2 separate regions of the Homo sapiens genome follow, and region 1 is linked to region 2. Evidence: promoter capture Hi-C in 16 types of primary human blood cells and fetal thymus (Javierre and others, 2016). All regions are on one chromosome and are shown on one strand. The core of a region is centred on a gene start or on the middle of the fragment in contact, and the rest is flanking DNA. Distances in the headings are between cores, read along the strand shown.

The links. The method cuts DNA at HindIII sites, captures the fragments that hold promoters and counts their contacts. A CHiCAGO score of 5 or more calls a contact.
Region 1: a fragment that was not itself captured here is called in contact with the fragment with the promoter of BLTP1 in region 2 in 1 of 17 cell types (neutrophils); the score reaches 5.1 in neutrophils.

Annotation. Positions count from the first base shown.
Region 1 is chr4:122,303,327-122,310,316 of GRCh38, reverse strand. BLTP1 (bridge-like lipid transfer protein family member 1) reads right to left here. Exons shown (of 88, transcript NM_001384125.1): 56 at 5,334-5,519; 57 at 4,272-4,440; 58 at 2,157-2,368; 59 at 853-1,051. Among named protein-coding and RNA genes, the nearest start is that of ADAD1, 72 kb to the left of the region's middle. RefSeq lists an enhancer at 4,006-4,536. The HindIII fragment of the contact is 3,544 bases long and covers 1,881-5,424 here.
Region 2 is chr4:122,148,909-122,155,189 of GRCh38, reverse strand. BLTP1 (bridge-like lipid transfer protein family member 1) reads right to left here and starts at 2,859. Exons shown (of 88, transcript NM_001384125.1): 1 at 2,606-2,859; 2 at 1,078-1,165. RefSeq lists silencers at 2,605-2,684, 2,755-2,944 and an enhancer at 2,767-3,568. The HindIII fragment of the contact is 21,892 bases long and covers 1-6,281 here.

The sequences.
Region 1 (6,990 bases), core at 2,403-4,902, 150 kb before region 2:
ATTTTTCCTTCCCTACACATTAAAACCAAGACTTTTTCATTTTGAATGCTAAAACTTCAATTTTTGTAAAAATAATAGAAATTTTCTCATTCCTCAAAGAAAATGGGAAGTAGAAAGATTTCCCTCTAGTGGAGAGAGGAAAAAATTACATAAACAATGGGCTACCGCTTTCTAAAAAGTAAGTAATTTAGTTTACAAGATTGAGGAATTTTAGTTCATAACCTTTTAACTCCTTATTTATAATTTTTCTTTATTATTAAGATTAATGATGCTTTACCAACTCTGCTATAATATTTAAAATATAAAAATATATACAAATAAATTCCGTATCTTCAATACGGCCTATAAACACAGCTTTAGTTATACCCAACCTTGAATATTATGGAATTGCAGGAATTCATGTTACACTCTGCACTCCTACAAATTTGAACATGTGGATTTATTCACGTCAATATTAATTAAGGCTGGCGTTCCTGGTCCTGGCTATTTACAACCTGTTCTGTGTTTTATGGTGAGTTGGATATTGCACATTTATCATTTTTTTTCAAGATTCCGACAGGTCAAAAATGCTTTATCTGGTCAAACATGGATCAATTACAGGAAAAATCAGGGACTGTGTAAACATTCAAATGTTATAGTACCAAAAAGAATGCCTGGTTGGTTTACTTACCAAAACTACTCAATGCTGTAGTTTTTCACGAATATGGTTTGTTACCTGTAACTAGAAATAGCCCTTCTTTCTCAAAGTCTAAAAACATTTGCTATATCTAAGCATCTTTTAATTTCACAAATGGAGACTTAATGTTTTATTTTTTAAGTTCTAAACTGTATATAGAAATAAAAGATACTCACAGGCATTCATCACTAAATCCCCATGAATTTCTGGTTTCCAGTCATCCCATGATGTCTCAAATCCATCAGCAAAACGGATACAAAAGTTTTTGAAATGCCCTTTGCTAACCAGAGACTCTGAAGAGCATGCAGTGATGAGAGTACTTTCAATGGTTAATACCAAAGCAGAACCAGTGTCAAGGTCTCCAGTATGATTAGACTGCAAAATATATTAAAGAAGAAATAAGACAAAAGGTGACAATTTTTTAAACTTAGAAATCCTCACAGGATTCATAGGAATAGAAATCTAGAAACGGTCAAGCCTAGATATGTTCATTAAAGAGCAGCTTAGAAAGATGCCTTTTAAAAATTAAATTGCTTAAGTGCAATGTACTTGCCATGTGCATTTTTTTTCTTACTTAACATACAAAGGGCTATCTACATTTCTATCTCAAGCCTCTCTTTTAGTTGTGGGGAGATGATCTCACTATGCCACCCACCTGTGGTGTTTATGGCCTTCCTAGGCAGTGCCCATTATGCTATTAAAAAACTACTATATTTCAGTTCCTGAAACACAAACATACCAATGCCACCCATCCTCAACCTGAAGTTTTTCTTAACACTGTCTTACCGAACAGAATCCTAAAAGATAAATTAATTCAACAACTGGTTACAAGTTATTAAGGTAAATTGTAACAGTAAAATATAGATCTCTATATGCTATTGTTAATAACTGTTGCTTCTTGGCCTGACAGGTGTTCATAGCCTTTTCTCTCTCTCATACACACATGTGCATGCAGTTACATATTCCTGAAAATTGGTCTTAAGTTGCAAAGAGAAAATTCCTGGTTTATGTGCACACTGCTTTGAAGTTTCATTACCATTAAATATTACAGTATAAAAGCATTTTGGAATTCCCTATTCTATTACAGGTTAAGTTCATTAAACAGTATTCTTAAATGTCCTTTTATTTCCATCTTATAAACAAGTCCATACCAATGACTTCCTTGTTAAAAAAGAAAACAATAAAATGATTCTGAAACTAAGCTTCTTTTTATGAAGGTAAAAATTAAGAGTTATCTGGGGGGTATCAATCTTATCACTATTCTGAAGCATATAAGAGTGCTTCAGAGAAAAGTCCCATGAGATTAAGATTTAATACATTGAGATGAGTAATGGTTGAAGGAATTCAATCTTACTTGCTACCTACTAAACAGTTATAAACTGTTACACTGAAAAATGTACTGTTATATTCTAAATACTTAGAAATGGTTATGTAGAAATGCCTGGCTCTTAATCCTGGAATATGACTTGACTTTTTGTACCTGTGCAGTATTTGTGATAGGTAGGCAAATTCCCAGATCATTGACAGTGAGCTGGAGAAAAAGAGTCCCAAAGGCCTGGGCTGATGTTTGCTGGATACCAGGTAGCATATCTACTACTTCCTTTGTAGCCATATGAATATCCTTATGTAAAGCCATTCGTTGTTCATTCCAGTTGTCATAGGCGGCCTTATAATTCAGCCAAAACAGCACAGCTTTTGATAATTAAGACAGGGCAGAAAGAAAATTAAAATCAACACTGTAAATCTATATGTTAAGTAAAACTCAAAAGCTGCAAAATCCTGTTGCTTAATAAAAATTACACCCAGAAAACTGTAGCATTAGAATTAGGAAAGATCTAAGAGGACATATAGTCACCATTTTTTAAATAACAAATGAAAAAATAAAACAGAAAGCAGGCAACCACATAATGGCACAAGGAAGAAGAAAATCCAGGTCTGTTCATTCCCTCTAACTTATTTGTGAAATGCCTATTATATGTTAGATACTGGGATGGAATAACAAATGAAAACAGACATGGTGCTTAACTTCATCTGTAGAGCTGTTACTTCTTTTAAAATTCTTTAAGGTACATAATGCTAGGAACATACCATTAAAAGGATCTGATTTACAGAGAAAAGTCAAAGATGTTTGAGTTTGTTAAACAGAAACAAACCTTAAGGAAAACCTTCATTTCACAGCAGTGTATAGATGGAGGGGCCTCTAAAAAGGACATAAAGATGGAGAGGCCAGAGAAGTAGGAGGAAAAGCAAATGCAGGTTGAGCATCCCTAATCCGAAATCCAAAATCCCAAAACTTTCTGAATGTTGATATGATGCTACAAGTGGAAAATTCCACATCTGAACTCATGTGAGACTGCAGCCAAAATGCTGTCAAAACTTTGTTTCATGCACAAAATTATTTAAAATATTTTATAAAATTATCTTCAGGCTATGTGTATATGGTGTATATGAAACATAAATAAATTTCATGTTTAAACTTGGGTCCCAGCCCCAAGATATCTCATTATGTATACACAAATATACCAAAATCTGAAAAAATCCAAAATCTGAAACACTTCCTGTCCCAATTACTTTGGAAAACCAGTACTCAACCTGTTTTGTGTCAAGGACACCAAGGGTACAAAATACTTTAAGAAGCTGATGAAAGCTGATGAGAGGTCAGTAAAATGAGAACTGAAAAACATGTACATGGGATTCAGCAAAATAAAATGCTATCTGTAACACTGCCAAAAGGGCAATTTTCTAACAGGATTCTGTTACTAGCCTATGTCCATCACTGATGAAGATCTTAAATGGCTTCTTAAATGGCTCCTCATTACTTCTAAAATACAGTTCAAATATATTTGCCCAATCCACATTAATTAGACCTTGTCTACCTGTTCAGCCTTCTTTCCCATTATTTTCTTCTATGAAACCTACTGCTATATTTTCTTAGACTTATGTGTTTAAACACATTCATTCTTATTCTCTCTTACTCAATGTTTATTTCGTTCTTATTGTATGCCAGGGACTGTTCTAGGCCCTGGGATATAAAAGTAAATTTCATTTCCTTATCTCCCTGGTGAACTCCTAATTCAAAGTCAAATCAAGAATTAGTTTCTCCTCTAAGAAGCATAGGCAAAGGTAGAGAATTCCTCAGAACCAAGAACACATCTCTGACTCCACTGTGTAGTCTACTTTGTTTTCTTTTCCACTGGACTGACAGGTCCTTGAGGGCAGGGATACTGTTGTTTATTTTTGTATTCCACTTCTAGGCAGTACCTGATAAATGTTTATAGAATATAAAAATAAACACAGTGCCAAAACACAAATGGGTGCATTAATTATCAAAACAAAAAAAATCAGCATTACAATTACATAATCTGAAGCAGACACTCTTATGTTATCCAGCCAGAAGACAAAATAACTTTAAAATGTAAAATAACTTTTAAAAACTGAAGGCAAAAAGCAAGATTTTTTTTTTGGATACACACATTTCAGATTTAGGAACCATTTAGCTGTCAAGCATTTACACCAGTAAACTACAAGATTCTTATCTAGCATTAACAAAGCATTCCTAGATCCCAGAGGATAGTAGTGATTGACTTTATCTTACCTCTATCAAAGGCCACAGGCTGTGCATAAACAATTGGTCTATTCAAAGTAATAAGCACAGCTTCCCTATCTGAAGAACCACTGATTTCTTCTCGGAGGGCATTTCTTAATCCAATTCTGGTTTTAAAATAGGCAACTTGATGAAAATCAGAACCAGCTTCCTCATAAACCTAAAATAAAATTTAAAGCTCAATAAAATAAAATAATGGAAAAAGTTTTAATATGAAACTAAACATTATTAATGGTATTGTTCACCAAAAAAACTATAATACATTTTTCTCAAATTCAGCTGTTAATGTATATTCCTTATACTCTGTACCATAAACACTTGAAATTAATATACAAAATAGCCATGCAAGAAGTAAATATGAAGTCATAGATAAACTTTATATAAAAGTTAGGATGAGGTCCATATTCTAAATGGCAATGTATTAAATATTTCAGAATAATTAGAACCTCTAAGAGATGACAAGAAATTTTTGTTCATTTTTTCCTCGTATCTTTAATGCAGCGATTCAGTTTTGAAACTGTGACTGGCATTTTTCTACTTGGTTCTTCAAAGAGGAAAAAAGATTAAAATCTACATAATAATTTTTGGCAAAATAAAAACAAAAAAAATCTCCAATAAGCTGTGAACATTCATTTTTATAAAATAGAGAATCTAACTGCTGTTTTTTAACTTTATTTAACATTACTATATGCAGAACTTGCTAATATTCTACAGGAAAGGTATACACTTAACATTTTAAGAACTGAGTAATGTTAGCACAAGACTTTGAAATAAAAAATGTTTAGCAAAATAAAAAAAATTACAAGCAAATGATTACGAAGATACTGGATTAAGTTTTATGTGAGTGCATCTGCACTAAACTATAACAATATGCGGCTACAATTTTCAATGAAATGCCAAGGTAAATGAGTTTTCACTGAATTTATAATCAGAAACTTTAGGAAATTAAACTAAATATTTTTGTAAATATAATAATACATAAGTTACAGTAGTTAAAATTGATGTGCAAAATTTAAAAGCCATCGTTCTAACATCAACATATTCTGTACTCACCTGATGTTTGACAATTTGTCCTAATGCCAGATTTAAATCCACCTGGCATTTGCCAAACAGTTTCAGATAGCTGCTACTTCCTGGTGAAGCTTTGGTTTGAAGTCGGTTAGAAAGTTCCAGTTCAATCAATCCAGTTTCAAATCTTACAGCTCTCATTGATGGAGTAGTGGCCGTTACTTGAATACCCTAGCAGATTATATGTTAGGAGGAAAAAAATGAATCTTAAATCAACAACATATACCTACTCAAATGTAGTCTTTCAGTATATGATAAATAAAATAGTCGTGTTTTAAACCATGAACAGGCATACCTTGGAGATAATATGGGTTTGGTTCCAGACCATTGTAATAAAGTGGGTCACACAAATTTTTTTGTTTTCCAGTGCATATAAAAGGTTATACTACAGTCCATTAAATGTGTAATACCATTATGTCTAAAAAACATTGTACATGCCTTAATTTAAAAAATACTTTGGCTGGGCGTGGTGGCTCACGCCTGTAATCTCACCACATTGGGAGGCTGAGGCAGGCAGATCACTTGAGGTCATGAGGTCGAGACCACCCTGGCCAACATGGTGAAACCCTATCTCTACTAAAAATACAAAATTAGATGGGCATGGTGGTGTGTGCCTGTAATCCCAGCTACTCAGTAGGCTGAGGCAGGAGAATAGCTTGAACCAGGGAGTCGGAGGTTGCAGTGAGCCGAGATCATGCAACTGCACTCCAGCCTGAGACAGAGCAAGACTCTGTCTCAAAAACAAAACAAAACTTTATTGCTAAAAAATGCCAACAATCATCTGAGCTTTTAGTGGGTTGTAATCTTTTTGCTAGTGGAGGGTCTTGCCTTGATGTTGATGGCTGCTGACTGATCATGGTAGTGGTTGTTGAAGTCTGGGGTGACTGTGGCAGTTTCTTCAAATAAAATGACAATGAGGTTTGTGTCACTGATTGACTCTTCCTTTCATGAAAGACTTCTCTGTAGCATATGATGCTGTTTGATAGCATTTTACCCACAGCAGAACCTCTTCCAAAGTTACAGTCAATCCTTTCCATACCTTGCCACTGCTTCATCAACTAAGTTTATGGAACATTCTAAATCCTTTGTCATTTCAACAGTGTTTACAGCATCTTCACCAGGAGTAGATTCTATCTGAAGATAGAATTTCTTTGCTCATTCATAAGAAGGAACTCTTCACCCATTCAAGTTTTATCATAAGATTGCAGCAATTCAGTCCCATCTTCACGCTCCACATTTAATTCTAGTTCCCTTGCTATTTCCACCCTGTCTGCATTTACTTCCTCTACTGAAGTGTCTTGAGTCCCTCAAAGTAATCCATGAGAGTTGGAACCGACTTCTTCCAAAGTCCTAGTAATGTTGATATTAGCACCTCCTCTCATGAATCAAAGTGTTCTCTCTTCCAGAAGGTTTTCAATTTACTTTGCCCAGATCCATCTGAGGAATCACTATCTATGAAAACTGTAGCCTTACAAAATGTATTTCTTAAATCATACACTTGAAAGTTGAAATTACTCAATTCATGAGCTGCAGAAGAAATGTGTTAGGCATAAAAACGTTAATTTCCTTGTAAATTTTCACCAGAGCTCTTAGGTGACCAGGTGCATTGTCAGTGAGCAGTAATATTTTTAAAGGACTCTTT
Region 2 (6,281 bases), core at 1,610-4,109:
CATACTTGCTTATCAAATAAAGAAAACATATTAATTCACAAAAAATGTTACCTTCTAAGAGAAAATGCACTACTGTAGTGTTCTCCAGGGCCATGAAGACCATTGCTCTATTACCAGAAGCCTGGATGTCTGACACATGATACTCAATAGCTAGTTATGAAATGAATTACACTGCTTCTTAATCACCTTTGATCATGTCTTCCATTATTCTCTGTAGAATTCATAAAAAATATACTTGAGTTCAGCCATACACAATATTCTATGAAAAACAAACCAAAAGTCAACTACTTTTCTTCATTTTCTCAATTTTTGTTTTTTGAGATGGAGTCTCGCTCTGTCGCCCAGGCTGGAGTGCAGTGGTGCGATCTCAGCTCACTGCAAGCTCTGCCTCCTGGGTTCATGCCATTCTCCTGCCTCAGCCTCCCGAGTAGCTGGGACTACAGGCACCCGCCACCACGTCCGCTAAATTTTTGTATTTTTAGTAGACACGGGGTTTCACCATGTTAGCCAGGATGGTCTCGATCTCCTGACCTTGTGATCCGCCCGCCTCGGCCTCCCAAAGTGCTGGGATTACAGGCGTGAGCCACCGCGCCCGGCCATTTTCTCAATTTCTTCTTAAAACACTTTACAAACATAGGTAGATTAAAGAGCAAGCAAAAGAGAGAACAGAATTTTGACACCTGTTAAGCAAAGGATTTCCCTGCTTTCTCCTGCCAATGCACAGGCTAAGCACATGACTTAATTTGTCAATCAGGTATCAATAGCTCAAAAGTCAAGTAAAATGACTAACAGGTTACATTACATATCACCACCACCCCACCCCCATTCCCTAGCAATATAGGCAGATTAAACCACAACTGAAGCAGAAAGTCAGAAGACCCAGCTACTTGGGAGGCTGAGGCAGGAGAATGGCGTGAACCCGGGAGGTGGAGCTTGCAGTGAGCCAAGATCGCACCACTGCACTCCAGCCTGGGCAACAGAGCGAGACTCCGTCTCAAAAAAAAAAAAAAAAAAAAAAAAAAAAAAAGTCTTTAACCGAAAATTTGACCTTTTTAAAACTTAGCCAAAAATACTTACCCAAGTTTTTTTCCAGAGTTTGCAACGTTCTGTTTTTCCTTCTACTTTTCTTCAGATAGCCTTTCTGCAGTGTTTCATCTTAACAAACCTGAAAAGTATGGCATTTTAACTAATTATACAAGGTATTCTGGCTTTACGAGCAGCATAACCATTTCTGATTATATGATTTCGTTACTTAATCATGCACAAACAGGACGAAACTCTTTTAGTCCAATATTACGTTTCCTTGTTTAAAGTTTCCAAACAACAAATACTCCTAAGTATAAAATAAAACTACAACTTCCAAACTGAAGCCTTCCAAAGACTCCAAAACCACTGTACTTAAGAGCATGAGTTTGGTAATCAAAGGTCCTAGAGATCAAATCCTATGTTTAAAACATAACTCAAAATGCACATTGAGAAAGTTTCTCTCAAACTGTTGGGTCCTTGCCGGCAAGAACAGTGCCATAATGTCCTTCCTGGCATACTTTTTATCAAATGAAAATCTTGCAAAATCACAGGGTGCTTGGGAGTTGGTATGGCATACTGACTAAGGGACTGCAAACGAGTCAGATTACCTGGTTTCAGTCACAGCTCTGACTTTGAACATGTTACTTTGTAGGTCTATTCTGTTCTTTCATCTAGAAAATGGGAATAGTAGACTTTACATTATAGGATTGTTTTGATGATTAAATGTGATAATATATGCACATAATTATATGTACCACTCAATAGTTACAAAGTATTCTGGTTATTCATCTATTTTTATACTTTGTATATTTAACTTGGAATAAAACAACTTCATTGCTATGCACAGGGTGAAAGCAGAAACCACTAAACCGGTTGAAACTTACAGGCGCTTAGACAGTTATAAAGCCCATGATTTCCTTAAAAAGGAAATTCACATGAACTTTTACCTTTAACAAACGTCAACACTAAGGCCAACAGGAAGGTAAAAAAAAAAAAAAAAAAAACGACAACAACTAATACTCTCCGGAAGAAAAATCAACTTCTCTTCACCTTCCTTTGACCAATAGGAAATTCTGCTGAAACGTAGTCTTCTAGAGTGCAGTGCAGCAAGCACCAATTCAGAATACAAAACACATCAATCCCAGAGAAGAAAGCGGGGGTTGTTCCAAGGCTTCCCCGCCCTCGGTCAACCGACCCTATATTAAGCAGCATGGGGTCTACTACAACCCAGTGCAGCTGGCAAGGCTGCAGTCCGAGCCTGCGGGTGCACGGTCCTTCCTGCCGAGTCCACACACCAGCAAGTGGAGCGCCTTACCATCACCCGCAGGAACTGCTCCTGTATCAAAGTCCCCAGCCATCCGACTGCCATGGCCCTTCCAGACTTTGCCACTGACCTCCAACCCTCGGTTTATAGGTGCCAGGGCTGTAGGTAAGGATGGCAAAGGAATATGAAGGAGTCGCCGCCGCAGGCAGCCACTACTAAGCCAAAGCTCTCAGACTCCGACCAGGTTGAGTTCCAGAGACACTGGAAAAAGGGGCTGACGACCTCAACCCCGTCTGGCCCGGCCCATCCCCTCACCTGGGCGAGTGCCGAGGCAGCCCGAAATCCCTCTGGCCTCTCTCCGGGGAACGCCGAGGGCCTTGGGCGGCGGCAGGGGCGGCGACGGCAGCAGCACCGAGCCGGATGCAGCCTGCGAAGCTCTGCCGGTGCCCACACCCTTTAGCCCCGCCGCCCGGGGCCGCCGCCCAGGTCCAGACCCTGGCCGCAGCCACCGACACCCAAGGGGGCGGAGGAGGAGGGGAGGGGTCCCAACCGAGGCCGGGCGGCACTGCGCCTGCGTCAGGCAGCAACGTCACACGCCAGCGTCGCCGGCGCCTCGAGGTGCGCCACTCAAGCCCTGCCCAGGAATCCGGCGGCGTCCCGCCCTGTTTCCTCCTCTCTGGGCTGCAGAAGGAGCCAGAACCCTGAATTTGAAAATCACTTTGCTACCCTAACAACCCAAAGGAAAAGTTAGTGCCTTCCTGATAGCAGGAGACAGATAAGCCCACTTAGGAGACGGAGGCTAACGAAAAAGGAGCATCGGATGGGTGTATGACGTGAAATGAGTCCTTAAGAAATAGAGATGCTGTTATGACATGATCAATAAGAGAGCTCGATTGTGTGAAGTGCTGCCACGCTGAATCTCTCAACTAAGTCTATTATTATGCTGATGATATTAATGAAAAGTAATTTGCTGCTCCTCTTTTTAAAGAGAAAGGCTCTTAATATTATTTAGCGGGTGAACCAAGGCAAACGACTTCTTGGAATTAGAGGAATGTCGCAGATATTTATTTGTCTGCGCTATATACTAGCAATAGTAAACAGTGTTTAGCAGGGCTTATTGACTAATCCTTCCAAAATCCTGTGAGGCTATTCTCATCCCCGTTTATCTCCATTTCACAAATTGAAAAACTAAGACACTGAGAGGTTAAATAACTTGCTAGAGAACCAGGGTTTGGACCCAAGAAATGTGGCTCCAAAGTATTACTGTATACTGCCTCTGAAGTTCCAAATGTCTAAATCTCTAGTTCTGACTTCTTTCCGGAGCTGAGGTACTTACTACAACCTTAATATTTCCACATGGCTGTTCCACTCTCACCTCAAAAGGAACAGATATGAAACCAAATTTAAGATAATGCCAGAAAACACACGAGGTACAACAATTAACTGTTATTGCATATAAGGAAATAGAGGCCCAGACAGAAGTGGTTTATGGAAGGACTGGATGAAAACCAAAAGGAGAAAAGCATGCACTGTCTTAGTTACTTCCTTCTGCTACCTGGACACTGGTACTGGCCTTATGTCAATTAACTCTTTAGAGTTTATTTCTGCCCCTCTACAAAGAAATTAATTTCAGTTGTCTTTTTCAACATCTGGAAGATTTCTAGTCAATCTTTGTTTTGTAATAAGGGAACCACCACAAGGATTCAAATTTGCTACAGCCAAACTTCGGATTTTGCCCAAGAAGGACATTGTGCAAGTACAAGTTCTCTGGACTAGAAATTACCTAGAGATGGTTCAAGTTCCCCAAATCAAAAACTAAACTGAAACTAAGTTGCACTGTAGCAGAGGGGAGAGGAGAGAAGGAAGTTCACTATGGCCTTTCTGTAACCGTGTGAGGGGACTGTGGGAATCTGGAAGTTTCTGCCTCTACTTCCTTTCCATCCCTGTGATCAAGAGTCACCCTGTAACTACAGCTATGCATTAGGCGACATTGTATAAATGAATTATTTATTTTAGAAGCCTCTATTCTAAAGGCCTTTAGTCTTGTGAAAATAATTATGCTCTTTGACATTTCATATGGCTCACTAAATTTGCATGGCAAGGCTTACTGCCTTCTCCAGTCTCCCACCTATTTTTCATTTTTCTCTAGCATGCCGTTAAAGTAAGGATGCCAAAGAAACTGTCTCCATTGAATCCAAGAAGAATTTCTCTAATGATGAAAGCCTTCAAGTGATTTTTTATATCTTACTTTTTATTTGAAATAATTATAAATTCACAGGAAGTTGCAAAGATAGTTCAGAGTGGTCTCATGTACTCTTCACCCAGTTTCCCCCATAGTTACATCTTGTATAATTATAGTACAGTAAGAAAACCAGGAATCTGACATTAGTACAATGTCTGTATGTAGCTCTATGTCATTTTATCGTGTGTAATTCCATGTGACTATCACTACAAACAATACAGACCTCTTTTATCACCACAAAGATCTCCCTTTTACTACCCCTTTATAGATGCACCCACCCCTCCTCCCCATATAACAACCCTAACTCTTGGCAACCAGTAATCTGTCTTCCATCTTTGTAATTTTATCATTTTGAGGATGTTATATAAATGAAAGTGTACAGTGTGTAACCTTTAGGAACAGGCTTTTTTCACTCTACATAATTCACTTGAACTGTATCCAAATTGTCATCTATATCAATAGTGTGATCTTTTGATTGCTGAGCAGTATTCCAATATATGGATGTTCCACAGTCTAATCATTCACCCATTGAGGAACATTTTGTTGTTTTCAGTTTGAGGCTATTACAAATAAAGCTACTATAAACAATAGTGTACAGGTTTGTTTGTGTGGTCTAGTGATTTTTTAAAAAGGAAAACAACACAGGAAATTTTGGCCACTAAAAAGCATTGTTTTTTAAACTTCTATTTTAAGTTCAAGGGTGCATGTGCAGGTTTGTCACATAGGTAAACTTGTGGTGTCATGGGGGTTTGTTGTACAGAACATTTCATCACCCAGGTATTAAGCCTAGTACTCAGTTAGTTTTCTTGATCCTCTCCCTCATCCACCTTCACCCTCCCATAGCCACCAGTGTGTGTTTTTCCCTTCTGTTTGTCCATGAGTTCTCTTCATTTAGTTCCCACTTATAAGTGAGAACATGTGGTGTTTGGTTTTCTGTTCCTGCGTTAGTTTGCTAAGGATAACGCCCTCCAGCTCTATCCATGTCCCTACAAAGGACATGATCTCATTCTTTTTATGGCTGTATAGTATTACATGGTATATATGTACCACATTTGCTTTATCCAGTCTATCATTAATGGGCGTTTAGGTAGATTCCATGTCTTTGCTATTGTGAATAATGCTGTAAATGAAGATACGTATGCATGTGTCTTTATAATAGAATGATTTATATTCCTTTGGGTATATACCCAGTAATGGGATTGCTGGGTCAAATGGCTTTTCTGTCTCTAGGTCTTTGAGGAATTGCCACACTGTCTTCCACGATAGTTGGACTAATTTACACTCCTACCAACAGTGTATACATGTTCCTTTTTCTCTGCAACCTCACCAGCACCTGTTTTTTTTTTTTTTTTGACATTTTAGTAATAGCCATTTTGAGTGATGTGATTTTGATTTGCATTTGTGGTTTTGTTTTGCATTTCTCCAGTGATCAATGATGTTGAGTTTTCTCATATCATTGTTGGCCGCATGTATTTCTTCTTTTGAGAAGGGTCTGTTCATGTCCTTTGCCCAATTTCTAATGGAGTTGTTTGTTTTTTTCTTGTAAGTTTAAGTTCTTTATAAATGCTGGATATTAGACCTTTGTCACATGCGTACTTTACAAAAATTTTCTCCCATTCTATAAGTTGTCTATTTACTCTGTTGATAGTCTCATTTGCTCTGCACAAGCTCTTTAGTTTAATTAGCTCCCAATTGTCAACTTTTGCTTTCGTTGCGATTGCTTTTGGCATCTTCGTCATGAAATCTTTG